Regions from separate parts of the Homo sapiens genome. Here regions 2 and 3 are each linked to region 1. The links are contacts of gene promoters, found by promoter capture Hi-C in blood cells and fetal thymus (Javierre and others, 2016). All regions are on one chromosome and are shown on one strand. The core of a region is centred on a gene start or on the middle of the fragment in contact, and the rest is flanking DNA. Distances in the headings are between cores, read along the strand shown.

The links. The method cuts DNA at HindIII sites, captures the fragments that hold promoters and counts their contacts. A CHiCAGO score of 5 or more calls a contact.
Region 2: a contact is called between the fragment with the promoter of NSUN7 here and the fragment with the promoter of N4BP2 in region 1, in 3 of 17 cell types (total CD4 T cells, naive B cells and total B cells). The highest score is 8.4, in total CD4 T cells.
Region 3: a contact is called between the fragment with the promoter of RFC1 here and the fragment with the promoter of N4BP2 in region 1, in 3 of 17 cell types (fetal thymus, naive CD8 T cells and non-activated CD4 T cells). The highest score is 6.2, in fetal thymus.

Annotation. Positions count from the first base shown.
Region 1 is chr4:40,055,600-40,058,295 of GRCh38, reverse strand. It overlaps N4BP2 (NEDD4 binding protein 2), which reads right to left and starts at 1,446. Exons shown (of 18, transcript NM_018177.6): 1 at 1,266-1,446. It also overlaps the pseudogene LOC344967. RefSeq lists enhancers at 385-484, 585-634 and silencers at 825-1,174, 1,225-1,684, 2,025-2,234. The HindIII fragment of the contact is 12,311 bases long and covers 1-2,696 here.
Region 2 is chr4:40,748,633-40,751,328 of GRCh38, reverse strand. NSUN7 (NOP2/Sun RNA methyltransferase family member 7) reads right to left here and starts at 1,374. Exons shown (of 12, transcript NM_024677.6): 1 at 1,029-1,374; 2 at 338-726. The coding sequence starts at 635. The HindIII fragment of the contact is 13,723 bases long and covers 1-2,696 here.
Region 3 is chr4:39,364,967-39,367,662 of GRCh38, reverse strand. RFC1 (replication factor C subunit 1) reads left to right here and starts at 1,301. Exons shown (of 25, transcript NM_002913.5): 1 at 1,301-1,424. The coding sequence starts at 1,422. RefSeq lists an enhancer at 1,260-1,379. The HindIII fragment of the contact is 1,173 bases long and covers 637-1,809 here.

The DNA of each region.
Region 1 (2,696 bases), core at 197-2,696:
GATGTTTACATTTCCTAAAGCGCGTCTTTTAGTTAAAATTAAAGGATGAGAGTTAAAACGAGTTACAAAAGACAGCTGGTGTTTGAAAGAAAAACACTGGAAGTAATAAAAACGGAGTGAAAAGGCTGATGTTGGGATTAAAAGAAAACATTTTTTTAATACAGCTGCAAATCAGTCATTGTTTTCTGAGAGGCTAGGTTCATCTCCAGGATTTTCTTCTAGGAGCTCAACCAATGGCCACCTTTACTGAGTTAACCAGTCTCCAGGCAAGCAGCCCTTGCTGATTGGCTCAAAGATGTCGAGTAGAAAAAGCAGCCAATCCTGCCTTCAAGCCAGAACTGTGCCATGGAGACATTACAACCACTGCATGGCGAGAATGTGTACAAACCTGTCCGTGCCACAAATATCAGATCCTAGTTACAAAGACTGCCGCCGAAAGGAAGAGCCTTTGAAGCCAACACTGACACTGACCTGTCATCTACATTCTATTACTCTAGCTCTCTTTCGGAGGGAAAAAAAAAACTATTTTAACCAAAAGCGCATGAGAGATAAACTGTGCCCCCGCTAAGATGACTCACTCTATTGAGGATGAATTTCCAAACGGACGGCTTAGAGAGAGTCCCGATGAGAGAGGGGCTCTAGAAGGGTCCCATTGAGGGACAAAGTTGCAGATGGGGGCAGGGGAGGCGGGACGAGGGCCAAAGACACACAAATGCCGGGGAGGGGAAAGTCTCCCCGCAGTCTCCAAAATCCGAACGTGTGAGTGGCTGTGTGTCTGGACTTGAACTGAGTAAATAAACGGCTCTGCTAGGACTATGTGCTCAGGAAGGTGGCCTGAAGTTCCCAGAAGGCTCCGCCTGGCAAACACCTAAGGCGCCTGGAGGGGCGCAAGGTCAGGTCCCGGCGGGAACAGATCTGGGAGGAAACCTCGGGGGGTCGAGAGGGGTGTGTCTGGGGCCTGGAGGCCCGCCAGGCACTCGGAGGCCAAGGAAGCGGCCGCGGCCCCCGCCTTCGCCCGGCCTCGGGCTGAGCGCCAGGGCCCGCCTCTCGCCGACGCCTCACTTCCCTTCCGTCCGGGCAGCCGGGCCCGCGGGTCAGATCGGAGGCGGCCCGCGCCGGGCCCCACATTCAGGGCTTGGGGGTTCATTCGCCGCGCCGCCCGCCGCTGCTTCAGGCCCTCCGCTTCGGCTCGGAGCCCCGGGACCCCTAACCTCCAGGGCCCTCACCTTGGACCCGCCTCCCTGCCTCCCACCCGCCGCCTTTACCTGCTTCTGGAGCGGGCAGAGGGCGTCGAAGCCGGTGCCGCGTCGTCGAACGCACAACGCGGCGCCGCAGGTCCGCAGCCCTTTCCCGCCGGCGCCACTGCGCTCTCCCGCGCCGCGCAAGGCTAGCAAGCAGCTGCGGCCGCGGGGGAGACACGGCGAGCGCGCCCGGCGGGGAGACACTGCCGCTCTCCGTCCGGCCGGGGAAGAGCAGCCGCGCAGAAGCCCGCCGCGAGAGGGCGGGTGGGCGGCCGGGTGGGGAGGGGTCTCGAGGCGCCGGCAATGGCTGCCACGTCGCCCAGGTGGATCGCCGCCCACCGCCCCCCCCCAAGCCCGCCGGCTGTCCGCCACGACCTCTGCTTCGTCCCCGAGCTCCGCCTCGGCGCGGCGGCCCGGGGGACTTGAGCCCGCGGGCGCTCCCACCTCTCCCGCTCCCGCTCTCCCGTTGGAGAGCAAGCCCTGCCCGGCCGGTTCGGCTGCTTCCGGTCGCCCACCCCCCAAGTCTCGCCCGAGAGCGGGCCGTGGTCCCCACTTTTCTTATCAGGGGGTCCCTGGAGGAGCAAGCCCTTCTTCGAGTGTCGGGTTCTGCTTGGGGGGAAGGCGGGAGCTGTTTGGCGCTGGGGAACATTGCAACAGGCCCGGAATTTTTGCCAAAATAAGCGGCGCGGTAAACCACAGCTGTTTCTAGCCCTCGGCACTCTCCCGAGCCCCAAAAAACAAAACAAACACAAGGTCGGCCTCGCGAGGTGAGGGGAGAAAGGAAAGCAGAGCTGGGACGAGCCCTGACGCGCGCGGGGTCCAGGCTGCAAGTTGGGAGGGACGGCGAGGCGAGCGACCGGCCTCGGCATTGCCTGACTAGGGCCGTGGCCGCTGCGGCGGGCACGGGAACCCGCCTTCTCGCGCGCGGCCCTCCCGCGGGGGGCTTCCGGGCGCGCGGCCTCGGAGCCCCACGGGGAGACAAAGGGGTAGGCGACTGCCACGGGGTGGAGGGAGGCTGCCCAGCCCCATCGGCCCTGCCAGCGTGCGGTCTGAGCTCGGGGAATGTGTGCGCCTTAGCCGGTGGAACCGCAGCCGCTGGCCTTTGCCCCCAGTTCGAGCTTGAGTTTTCGGATGCCAAGAAAAAGCAAAGACGTGCTCTTCCCTCTTGCGACCGCTGTAGTATGAGTCCGTCCCCAAGCCTGCACCATTTTTTTTCTCTCAACTCTGCTTTCCCTGGTTTATTTGTTCTGGGTTCTGATGTGAAATGTTTAGTGTTTTCAGGGTACGCAAATTTTTCACCTTTGCTTTCTGGTTGGTGGTGGTGGTGGTGATGGTAGTGGTGGTGGTTTTGCCTGTTTTTTACTTCCTCCGTCCCCTCCCTTTGCGGTTACTTTTCATTCCACTTGCAGTGGTTTTTCCCAGAATAGAGAAGCGAAATAACCTCATGACAAAGTG
Region 2 (2,696 bases), core at 125-2,624, 690 kb before region 1:
CAATAAAGCGAGACCCCTAAGTCTACGAGGGAAAAAAAAATACAGGGAGAGGGAAATGATCATTGGAATAAATTGTTTCCTTGTTGAATGTAATGACCGCGCACTACACCGATCTAAGGACAAACACAGTGCACGGGGAAATCTGCAATCCTGGGCTGGAAGAGCTAGTTTCATGGGAACCCTAATTCCTTGACACTTGCAATTAACCAAAGATATGCACATGCCTAAAACCAAAACCTGGTGTGAATGAGGGGAAGGGAGGAGGAGGGCTGCATTCCCCAAATTCTCTCGCTATTATTTTCTTTTAGTGTTGATCTTCCAGACTGGCACAACTCACATTTCAGGGCACTGAAAGCCAGCTCATAAGACAAACGCTGAAAGGACTGATCCTCAGACTCGGACAAGGACCGCAGGGGTTCATTCCCATACTTGATTAAGACTTTCTGTGCCGACTTTTCGATTCGAATACCCTGAAAAATGTTGGCTGCCATGACATAAACGGAGTCCGGATAGCCCGTTTTTTCGGGCACACCAGCTGAGCTTTTCCCACCGGACAGAGGCAGGGAAGTGAGTTGGGAGATGATCTCGGGATCTTCTTCGTTCGAAAACTCCAGTTCGCCCGTGGAATTCAGCATGTCTGCCCCTCGCCTGTCGTGAGTCCTTCACCCTGGGGTTAGAATTCCGATGTTCCAGGAAACGGCTTTCCTCGCATCTGCAGCATGGTCTCTGTGAAGAGAGAAGGTGATTGCAGTAAATCACTCTTTCTGCAGCACCCCTGTGGGTGGCCCCCTTCGTTGTGGCCTTAAAGACTAAGAGGGAGCATTTCCCGTCCCATCTGAGTGTCCCAGACTTCGAGCCTGGGACGCTCAAAAAAAAAAAAAAAAGCGAGGAGGGGTGCAGCGGCGGAGGGAGAAGAGCCCCAAGGAGACCGACGGCTTCCCTCAAGCCAGTCTGGGGGCAGAGCTGCCCCCGGAGCCCCGTCCGCGTCCCCACAGCCCAGTCACCGGCTCCCCCGACTCCTCCCTTACCCCGAGGGCGGATGGTTCCCGGGGCTTCGGGGACGAAGACGCGGAGGGCGGCGTCGGTCACAGGCCCTTGGGAGCCCCGGGACTGCGGGGCGACGGCTGCTGCCCGCGAAGGCCGTTTGGTTCAAATGCAGCCACTCCCACCGGCAGGATTCGGGGCAGGGGGGTCGCAGCCTCTGGCGCCCGGTTCGCTCCGGTGTCGTGAAGTGGTGGGCGCCTCGGGGCCTCGCCTGGCCTCGCGCGTGAGGCCTTCGCGGACGTGGCGGCGAAGAGGGGTGAGCGCGGTGCCCGGGGTCTGGCTGGCTCAGGCCGAGGAAAGCTCAGCCTCCCGAGTCTCCGGCAGTCGACTGCTCCCGGACCGGGTCTTCATGGCAACCGCGAGCGGAGGTGGGGCAGGGGGCGCGGCGCGAGGGCCGTTCCCGCGGGATTTGGCGGGTGCTACCTGTTGCCGGGAGAGTCGCTCTTCCCCCAGCGCGCGGAGACACCTGTTTCAGCCCCTCCGAGCCAGAGGCCTCTTGCACAGTTCCTGGACCTCACCGGGCCTGAGTGCGTGCCCTTGGCTTTGTTTATAAACATTTGGGGATATTTTTGAGGTAGTCTGACGTAGTTCCGTGGTTTTAACTCACAAGTTCCTGAAGTCCCTGTTAAAACTACACATTCTTTAAAATATTTTTAAAATATAGTAATAATTTTTTTTTTGAGACATGGTCTCGCTCTGTCGCCCAGGCTGGAGTGCAGTGGCGCAATCTCGGTTCACTGCAGCCTCCTCCTCCCGGGTTCACGTGATTCTCATGCCTCAGCCTCCCGAGTAGCTGGGACTACAGGCGCCCGCCACCACACCCTGCTAATTTTTGTATTTTTAGTAGAGACAGGGTTTCACCGTGTTGATCAAGTTAGTCTCGAACTCCTGACGTCAAGTGATCTGCCGGCCTTGGCCTCCCAACGTGCTGGGATTACATGCGTGAGCCACTGCGCCGTCTGTAATAATTTTTTTTAATAACAGAGACAGGGTTCCCATTATGTTGCCCAGGGTGGTCTCGAATTCCTGGGCTCAAGGAGTCCTCCCTCCTCGGCCTCCCAAAGTGCTGGGATTTCAGGCGTGAACCACCGCCTCCAGCTAAAAAAAAATCCTTGGAACCCATCCTAGAGATTTGAGTTGCTAAGACCCAGTAATTTGCATTTTTATCAGGTAACTGGCGATTCTGATGCAATCAGCCCAAAGACCACAGTTTGAAAAACTCTGGTATAGTTGAAAGACAACTGGTCCTAATTCCACCTCTGCCTTTCCTCCTTAGGGATTTGCCCTTCCTTCTTTAGGCTAAGGCCATTTCCATTTCCAGCCAGTGGTTAGTAGGATGAAGGGGAAAGAGAGGGCAGCCCATATTTTTCAATGACCTGAAAGGTGCACATATCACTTTGGCTCACATTTTATTGGTCAGAACTCAGTCATATACCCAGCAACCAAGAGGCTGGTAAATGTGTCCAGCTAAAAATAAGGGAACTATTACTGTAGAAGAAGGAGAGAATGGATAATGGGGAAAAAATTAGCAGTACAGAACTCTAACCCTGACCCCTTCTCTCAGAAATCCACCCACTTTCATTATCCCCGGAATACGTTAAACATTCCGTAACATTTTATGTATACATGCATTCATTCGTTCGTTTAACAAG
Region 3 (2,696 bases), core at 52-2,551, 690 kb after region 1:
AAAAGTTAAGAGGAATGTAATATAAAAGACACGTACAACTTTTTATGTCTTATTTACTCATTTATTGATTTATAACACAATGAACATTATAAATTGGTGTAGGTCCTCTAAAATTATGGGCAAAAATTTGTGTGATATGTCTGCTAAGACAAAACCGAGGCACAGTAACTTGCCCTTGGTCACATAAATAGCAGGTGGTGGGGCTGGAGACCTAGCATCCTGGCTTCAGAGGGAACAGTGCAGTGAGGCCCTGTTAATAAGTAACAGTCTGTCTGTAAATTCGGGATAAGAGTAGTCAGTGTCATCATGGGGATAAAATGAGCTAGGCTAGTCCAGAGCTGCACGTACAACAATAGGCGTTTAATAAATACAAGCTGTCAATGCTCAGCCTCTGTTGTATTCCAGGCTGTTCTATCTTTCGCCATAGAAATGTTGGTGTCATAAAGCGCAAGACCCAACAGGGGGTGGATGGGTGAGAATTTCAAAAGTGTAGCTAGAGCCAAAGCTGGAGATACTGCTTTCTCCATTGAACTCTTTATGGTCTAATCTTTCTCTTGAAATCGTACGCAAATGTTTCATTGTATTCCGTGATTCAATTGCTAATCTATTCATATACAACTGGTTTACCCCAAAGCTTTCGGTATCTTTTCTTTTTTTTGAGGCGGAGTTTCGCTCTGTCGCCCAGGCTAAAGGGCAGTAGCTCGATCTCGGCTCACTGCACCACTGCCTCCTGGGTTCAAGCAATTCTCCTGTCTCAGTCTCCCGAGTAGCTGGGACTACAGGCACACGTCACCACCCCCTGGCTAATTTTTGTATTTTTAGTAGAGACGGGGTTTCACCACATTGGTCAGGTGGTCTCGAACTCCTGACCTCAGGTGACCCACCCGCCTCGGCCTCCCAAAGTGCTGGGATTAGAGGGGTGAGCCACCGCGTCCGGCCTCTTGATGAAACCTTATTACAGAATAGATATTTATACATAATATGTAAAACGCACAGCTAAAACATTTATCTTACTAAAGTTGGTAGTAAAAACTTTTCAAAGTTACTATAGGGAAGTGCATTGTCCAGACGTGTAACCGGGAGGTACTTGGGTACCCCGCCTGCCAAGGAAACCAATATCGGATCCCCCTACTTTAGCGCCCCCGCCAAAAACCGAGCTCACACCAAAGCACCGTGGTTCCTCTCGATGTCAGCGGCCCGCCTGCCCTCGGGGCAGCACCTGGGCAGGCGTCGCACCTCCCGCCTCTGGGCGGGACGGAAGCAAAGCTCGCGCCTCCTGACGTCATCACCGCGCGCCACTGTCTTCGCCTTCTTGCACTTCGCGGGAGAAGTTGTTGGCGCGAATGGATCCTGAGCCTCGATAACAGATTCCTCAACCGGCCCACCCGCCAGCCAGCCAGCGCCTTCATCCTGGGGCTGCGATGGTGAGCCGCTGGGGGAGGCCGTGCGGCTCGGGGTCTGGGGGGGCTTTGCAGGCCTGGTGTGGACCGGGCACTCCTGGTATGCAGGGTGGGGGAGGATGGCGGTGGGTGGTTCCGGAGGCTAGCAAAGGCAGAGAAGGGGCCGCACACCGGGCACTGGACGCAAAACTTTCATTGCATCGCGGGCTCTGGCTCTGGGCGGCAGCCAGCGCGCAGGGATTTTGTTGCTACGTGTACTTGCACTTTCCCCCCGCCCCCCACTCTTGGGGGAAGGGAGAAAGGAAGAGAGGAAGGATGGTGGTTTTGGGACGCATTGGTAAAGTTATTTTCTTGTTCGGCGTTGCCCGAACCTCAGTTTGAGTACTGCCTAAAGCGTGGATTTCAAGCTTTGGGTCACGAGGGAGAAGAATGTAACAAACTTTTCTTTCTTAGGGAATATGTTGTGTAGGGCCTTAAACTTTTATCATTAACAGCTCAGCTCGTCTCATCTCCGCTCGTCATTAACGATCACCTGAGCGGTGTTGAGACCGAGGGCATGGAGAGGATATTTTATTTTGTTTAGATGAGTTCATAGGAGTCAAAAGGATAACATGGCTTACTAGGAAAAAGAAGTACAGCGAATAGAAACAGATGCAAGACATTTGACAGCTGTCATCCTCTTACCACCTGATGTTTAAAATCTGAAAAAAACCCAAGCCTCACTGCATAATTCTGGATAAAATGTTCAAACAAATTGAAAGTGAAATGATTATGCAGCCAGCAAAGCAGACATTCCTGATGGTATGGCAATGGATATGGCTCTGTGTTTGAAATATTTTTAAAGGACCATTTAAAATGTTCATTAAGCTAGAAGATACTTAACAATCCGATATAATTTTTTTCAATCATTGGTCAACGTGTCACAGTGACAACATTCTGGGGGGGGGCGGTGAAAATTTTATGCCACACTGGGAAACGTTGCAGGCCTTTGTGTTTCTTCTCAAAAAAGGGCAACAGTAATGATAGTAGCTACCTTGTACCAAGCATCTTCTTTAGGTCAATATGTGAACTGTTGGTTTTCCATGGTTTTTTTTTTTTTTTTTTTTTTTCATTTCAACCCACATCGATGCAGTTTTACAGATGGTGCAAGCACCTTTTTGGAATTTAAACAGTGTATCATATAACTAGTAGGTGGTTGAACTAGAATTAGAATCTTGGTGTTTCTGACCACCATGTTATACTACTTCCCTATAATGATCATCATTACATTTTGGAGGCCAAAGCACTGTGGTATTT